2 separate regions of the Homo sapiens genome follow, and region 2 is linked to region 1. The links are contacts of gene promoters, found by promoter capture Hi-C in human tissues and cell types (Jung and others, 2019). All regions are on one chromosome and are shown on one strand. The core of a region is centred on a gene start or on the middle of the fragment in contact, and the rest is flanking DNA. Distances in the headings are between cores, read along the strand shown. Region 1 holds the start of PARP2 (poly(ADP-ribose) polymerase 2). Region 2 has its middle 6.7 kb from the start of RNASE8.

Region 1 (3,408 bases), core at 609-3,108:
ACTGAAGATCGGTTCCAGAGTCTCTTACCTTCCCCACCTTGGCTGTACACTCTGGGTCCACAGGAGCTTTGCCCTTTAACAGCAAGGCCTTCACAGATTCTGAGGAAAGACAGATAGGTACTACTTTATGGGAATCAAAAACAGCTGTTGTGGTAAAACAGAAACTTGTCAGGATTAACTTTGCCCGCCCAACCAATCCTGGTCTTTCCTTAGACCCCAATCCATCTCAAATACATGAAAATGAAGATTCAAGGCAGTAGATTAGTGCTGTGGTATGCCCAAAGGATAGAGAAATTAATTATTCCCTGAAAGAAGGACGAAATAGGAGTTGAAATAACAAGATATCATCCCCAGATCCACTCCTACCAGAGACCCTTTTGCTGGCCCATGACCTTCCTGGCATACCATCTTGCTTGTCTTCTGTCCTGTCCTTATTAGCTTTTCCTCCAGCCACAGGCATCTTTTTCGACTCCTGTCTCTGGCATCTACGAGTTTTCTTGGCAGGGGAAGAGTCTTCTGGAGCCGTGTTGCCATTATTAACTCTTTTGCTTTCATTTAATGCTACAGAATTTGGAAATTAGCAAAGAATGAGTACACACCCGAATACGTGTAGATTTTAAAGATTGAAAAAAATCTTTTAAAGAAATGGTTTAAGATAATTTTCTCTCTTTTTTTGTTTTGAGGTGGAGTCTCACTCTCTCGCCCAGGCTGGACTGCAGTGGTGCGATCTTGGCTCACTGCAACCTCCGCCTCCTGGGTTCAAGTGATTCTCGTGCCTCAGCCTCCTGAGTAGCTGGGATTACAGGCGTGCACCACCATGCCCAGTTAATTTTTGTATTTTTAGTAGAGACAGGGTTTCACCATGTTGGCCAGGCTGGTCTCGAACTCGTGACCTCAAGTGATCTGCCCTCCTCGGCCTCCCAAGGGATTACAGGCGTGAGCCACCTCACCCCGCCGGTTTAAGATAATTTTCTAAGTTTACAGAGGCAATAACAACTGTCCCACACTACTTTTGTGTAACAGTCTGTGTAATTCTTCCTAAATTGCTATTCTAGCCAAATGAAATAAAACAAAATAAAAGGGAGTCCCAGGAGTCTTGTAAGCTCATAGATTGAGGCCTGCTTATCTGTTTTACTTGTGTCCCAATGTCCCCCAAATACCCACCTCATACATGAGGCCGTATGGGATAAAGGTTAGTTAAGTGCTCAAGGGTCTGTGCCTAATTTAGAGCCTAGCTCTGCTGCTTTTCTCTGTGGAAACTTGGAGAAGTATTTGATCTCTTCCTACTTCACTTACTCCAATATTAGAATATTGTACAATACTGTACTTCTAGAGAAGTACAATAGAACCTAATTTATAGGGTGCACCTATGCATTTAAGAACATTATACACATAATACCGTATCTCAATAGGTCTAAGACTCGCATTTTACTCTCTGGAACTGGGATGCATCTTACAATGGATGACATAAGCAGTGAATCACAGTTCACCATTTTCAGTGCTTATCCTTTGTTGTGTATAAAATAATGGTGTGCCTTACAATTACTTTTTGTAAATTGGATGACATTAGGTATTAACAACAGTACTGGCACATTAGTTGTTACAGCTCCGCAAGGCTTTATGCACAATTATGTAATCCCCAAAGCTCTGAAAACCGAAATTTACAAAATTTAGCACCCCAACTGGTTTGGTAGCCAAGTGCAGGTTATAGGGAGCTGGAAGGGGAAGGGGGTCACAGTAGGTGGCATCGTTCCTTTCTGACTGCCCGCCCCCCGCATGCCGTCCCGCGATATTGAGCTCCGAACCTCTCGCCCTGCCGCCGCCGGTGCTCCGTCGCCGCCGCGCCGCCATGGAATTCGAACGCTGACGTCATCAACCCGCTCCAAGGAATCGCGGGCCCAGTGTCACTAGGCGGGAACACCCAGCGCGCGTGCGCCCTGGCAGGAAGATGGCTGTGAGGGACAGGGGAGTGGCGCCCTGCAATATTTGCATGTCGCTATGTGTTCTGGGAAATCACCATAAACGTGAAATGTCTTTGGATTTGGGAATCTTATAAGTTCTGTATGAGACCACTTTTTCCCATAGGGCGGAGGGAAGCTCATCAGTGGGGCCACGAGCTGAGTGCGTCCTGTCACTCCACTCCCATGTCCCTTGGGAAGGTCTGAGACTAGGGCCAGAGGCGGCCCTAACAGGGCTCTCCCTGAGCTTCGGGGAGGTGAGTTCCCAGAGAACGGGGCTCCGCGCGAGGTCAGACTGGGCAGGAGATGCCGTGGACCCCGCCCTTCGGGGAGGGGCCCGGCGGATGCCTCCTTTGCCGGAGCTTGGAACAGACTCACGGCCAGCGAAGTGAGTTCAATGGCTGAGGTGAGGTACCCCGCAGGGGACCTCATAACCCAATTCAGACTACTCTCCTCCGCCCATTTTTGGAAAAAAAAAAAAAAAAAAAAAACAAAACGAAACCGGGCCGGGCGCGGTGGTTCACGCCTATAATCCCAGCACTTTGGGAGGCCGAGGCGGGCGGATCACAAGGTCAGGAGGTCGAGACCATCCAGGCTAACACGGTGAAACCCCCCCCCATCTCTACTAAAAAAAAAAAATACAAAAAATTAGCCATTAGCCGGGCGTGGTGGCGGGCGCCTATAATCCCAGCTACTTGGGAGGCTGAAGCAGAATGGCGTGAACCCGGGAGGCGGAGCTTGCAGTGAGCCGAGATCGCGCCACTGCATTCCAGCCTGGGCGACAGAGCGAGTCTCAAAAAAAAAAAAACCGAGTGGAATGTGAAAAGCTCCGTGAAACTGCAGAAACCCTTTGGGAACAGAGGGAACCATGGGGCAGGAAGCCCACGAAAATTCTAATTGGTCTTCTGGTTCTTGGTGACATCAGGTGAGGGGCGCCCAAATGTTTGGCTTCATGAGAATCACCGAGTATGGGGACTGCATACTTAAGCAAATTCCCCACCCCAGACCCTCCGATTCAATAAGCCTGTATTAACAAAATCACTGGGTAATCCTGGTTTTGGCACTAATATCATTTAGAAACATATTGTTAGGATAGCATAGTATCTGTTATAGAGCAACCTGAGCAAAATAGCGAAACCTCGTCTCTATTACAAAAAAAAAAAAAAAAAAAGTGAAAAATTAGCCAGGCGTGGTCGCGGGCGCCTGTAATCCCAGCTACTTGGGAGGCTGAGGCACGAGAGTCGCTTGAACCCGGGAGGCGGAGGTTGCAGTGAGCCGAGATCCCGCCACTGAACTCCAGCCTGGGTGACAGAGTGAGACTCCGTCTGAAAAAAACAAAGAAAAAAAAATTGATACATTTTAATTTTTGTTCATCAAAAGATGTAAAGTTTAGAAAGAAAAAACCCAAAATCTCATTATTTGCATGTAATTTGATTATGAATATTTTAAA
Region 2 (3,198 bases), core at 695-3,194, 710 kb before region 1:
CAGCCTTCCCAGCCTGGAATCAAAGCCTTCTCCTACTCACCTTGCGTCCAGTCTACCCATTCCGTATGAGTGGCCTCCCTATCTTCCCTCCGAACACAAACTATTCTAACCAAATTCTATCCTAATAACCTGATTTTCCTTTTGTCTCCAGCACATGTTTTGCTCTCTTCAGCTTTGCTTCTGTTTCCCTCTTCCCTGCAAGTCCTCCCTCAAATATTATCCATCCTTTAGAACTCATCTTGACCATATGAGTTTGCTCAGGATCACATTTACGAACCTTGCCGTACAAATCCTAACCTCCTTTAGCATTAACTGTTTCATAGTATCACTCATTTGGGTTCTAAATCGTGTACTACCTTGTTTTGCTATTTAACTCTTTCATCCAGTAAGAGCATCCAGTCTTCCCAACTAGACGGTAAACTCGTGGGACAGGAATCAGGTCCTTCCGTGCTTCTCTGTCTTCATAGTGCCAGGCACATGGCTAGCTCACAGGAGCACTCAGTAACCGTGCATTGAACTCAGTCATCACTCTGATCCTCTCAGTCTTCTTACTATTTATAACACAAGGAGTTTCAGTTGAATAATGTCTAAAATGCCCCCTGGTTCTGACACTTGTGTGACACAAGAAAAAACATCAAAGTGCTAGTAAGTAGCCAGCACCTTACTAGTATGAAGGAGAGGCCTAATAGTAGACTCTGAAGGTGCCTTGAAAGAAGGGGAGCAGAGAATAAGCAACTATCTCCCAAAGACCCATTCTTTCAGGATACCCCAGGAGGGCTGAGCGAGGGTGCCAGAGAAGTTTGCCTGGTTTGCTGGCCTGAAGGACAGCAGTACCACGAGGGTCGTCTTTGAACTACAAGTGCCACCCCCATAGGGTTTTTCAAGCTTCAACCTTCAAACAGCCTCCTGGTGGTGACAGACCTGTGGTCTGGGCCCTGGTTTATGGCTCTGAGAAGCAGAGCTCCATCACATGGAATCCAGTGGCCACATTCCTTTTGGGAAGCCCTCCTCTGTTTCCAGTGGCTAACCCTGTCTCCTGCCAGGTCCATTTTTCTTTTCTATGTAGTTCTTTGAGGCCTTCCTATGGTGCCCATTTGCACTATGAGCTTGTCTCTGCGGGAGGACTGTCTCCCTTTGTTCCTCACTCCTGGATTCATCTTCATGAGGGAGAGGATGTAGTCTTCAACCCAACCAGAGCTGAGGCATATGGCTCCCTGGATACGCCAGTTCCCCTCATAGGCCGGCTGCCCTCCTGAGACCTCTGACTTACCACAACAAGGCTGCGTGCAGCCTTCAGCCCTGCTAGGAATGATAGGGGTCATAACGATAAAAACAATCATAGTTAACATTTACTGAGGCTTTTCTATGTTCCAGTCACTGTTCCAAGTGCTCTATGTCTATTTTCTCATTTTTCAGCATGAAAAGGACCTTTCCAATGCCCTAGCCCCATGACTACCCTATCTTCCTCAACCAGTTCTTGAAAAGAAACACTGGTCAGAGACAGAAATCCACAAAGAGCAAGTTAAGGAAAACATTAGAGCCAGTGTACTGCTACCCCAGGTGGAACACAGATGTGTGCAGAGGGTACACAAAGTCACAAGATAAATGTGTTCTTTACAATTTTACTAAAACCATCTTTTTAGGGGATGGGGAGTAATTTAAGGCATTATTTTTACAGAAAATAACTTTGTATGATAGAAAAATTCAAATGAGTTACATTAAATTTTTTTAGCATTTTCACTTTGAAATAATTTAAAACGTATATAAAAGTTTCAGAAAGCATACACAGAGCTCCCCTATATGCTTCACCCAGTTCCCCAATTATTAACATTTCTGAGCTATTTCAGAACAAGTTACAGACATGATGCTCATTACCCCTTAATACTTCAGTGACTATTTCCTAATTACAAGTACTCTCGTGTGCATAACCACAGTACAGCCACCAAAAAGGGGAAATTGACATTGATCCATTATTATTATTACCACAAATGAAATTTAAAGATAGCATATAAAACACTCATATGCACGGCTATTTTATAAATATTAGTTAAGTGAAAGAAGCTTCAGAGAAAGCCCAAGCTCATTGGGCACTACTTTAGGTGTTTTAGTTCATCTTCCTCTGTGGTTACTAGCACTTCAGGGGAAATTCTGGGAAGCATTGCTCTGCAGGTTCTAGTTGACCATGAAGATCCTGTTCTGGATATGCCAAATTCAAGGGTAAAAAGTGGTAACCCTTACCAAAGATAAATGCTTGGGATATCTCAGGCCCACCCGGAGCTCCACCAAACAGGATCTCTGTAATGTTTTCACCCTGGTCCGGAGTAGCAGATGGGAGGTCCAGGCCCTTTTTCTTGTTGCATATCCTTATTTATGTTTCCAGCAGCCAATGGCACGGCCAGGGACATGCTTGACTAGTTTGCCATCAATTCCTCATGTACTGTTTTTTTCCCATCTCAATGATACAATATGAGCATTCAGGTGAAGGTCAGAAATGCAACGTGTCAGGATTACGGGCACTTAATACTCTTTTGGATGAACATGCTTTTGTCTCAAATCCGGGGGTCTGCCCATTTGCAGATTGATTTGCCAGTCCATGTATGATTTGATCTTGAAAGATATCTGGGCTGGGCACAGTGGCTCACCTGTAATCCCAACACTTTGGGAGGCCAAGGCAGGCAGAACATGAGGTCAGGAGTTCAAGAGCAGCCTGACCAACATGGTGAAACCCAGTCTTTACTAAAAATACAAAAATTAGCCGGGCATGGTGGTGCATACCTGTAATCTCAGCTACTCAGGAGGCTGAGGTAGGTGAATCGCTTGAACCTGGGAGGCCAAAAAGCTCAACAAGGTTGCAATGAGTCGAGATCGTGCCACTGCACTCTAGCCTGGGTGACAGAGCAAGACTCTATCTCAAAAAAAAAAAAAAAAGAAGAAAGATGTCTGAGATCCATTTGATATTGAATGCCACTTTGTAAATATCACAAGGCTTGTTCAAAAAAGCCCGAGTTCTTGCCTAAATTATTCATGTAATCTTGGGCAAAGTGTTTAAGTCCTCAGGGTTATTTTGCTCATTTGCAACATGAGGAAGGCATGACTAGATGATCTCCGAGAACACTGGACAAGATGTCTTGCAGCATTATAATGTTATGATTACTACTGGGAGAGCCCTAAAGCCATGGAGATAGGAAATTTCATCTT

What was found. Contacts are between HindIII fragments. The study calls those that stand out against the background at their distance.
Region 2: a contact is called between a fragment that was not itself captured here and the fragment with the promoter of PARP2 in region 1, in 1 of the 25 tissues and cell types used here (dorsolateral prefrontal cortex).

Annotation. Positions count from the first base shown.
Region 1 is chr14:20,342,085-20,345,492 of GRCh38, reverse strand. PARP2 (poly(ADP-ribose) polymerase 2) reads right to left here and starts at 1,858. Exons shown (of 16, transcript NM_001042618.2): 1 at 1,806-1,858; 2 at 406-561; 3 at 29-99. The coding sequence starts at 1,851. It also overlaps RPPH1. RefSeq lists enhancers at 1,776-1,945, 2,876-2,975. The HindIII fragment of the contact is 9,658 bases long and covers 1-3,408 here.
Region 2 is chr14:21,049,497-21,052,694 of GRCh38, reverse strand. It overlaps a transcript of NDRG2 not described here. Among named protein-coding and RNA genes, the nearest start is that of RNASE8, 6.7 kb to the left of the region's middle. The HindIII fragment of the contact is 6,049 bases long and covers 1-3,198 here.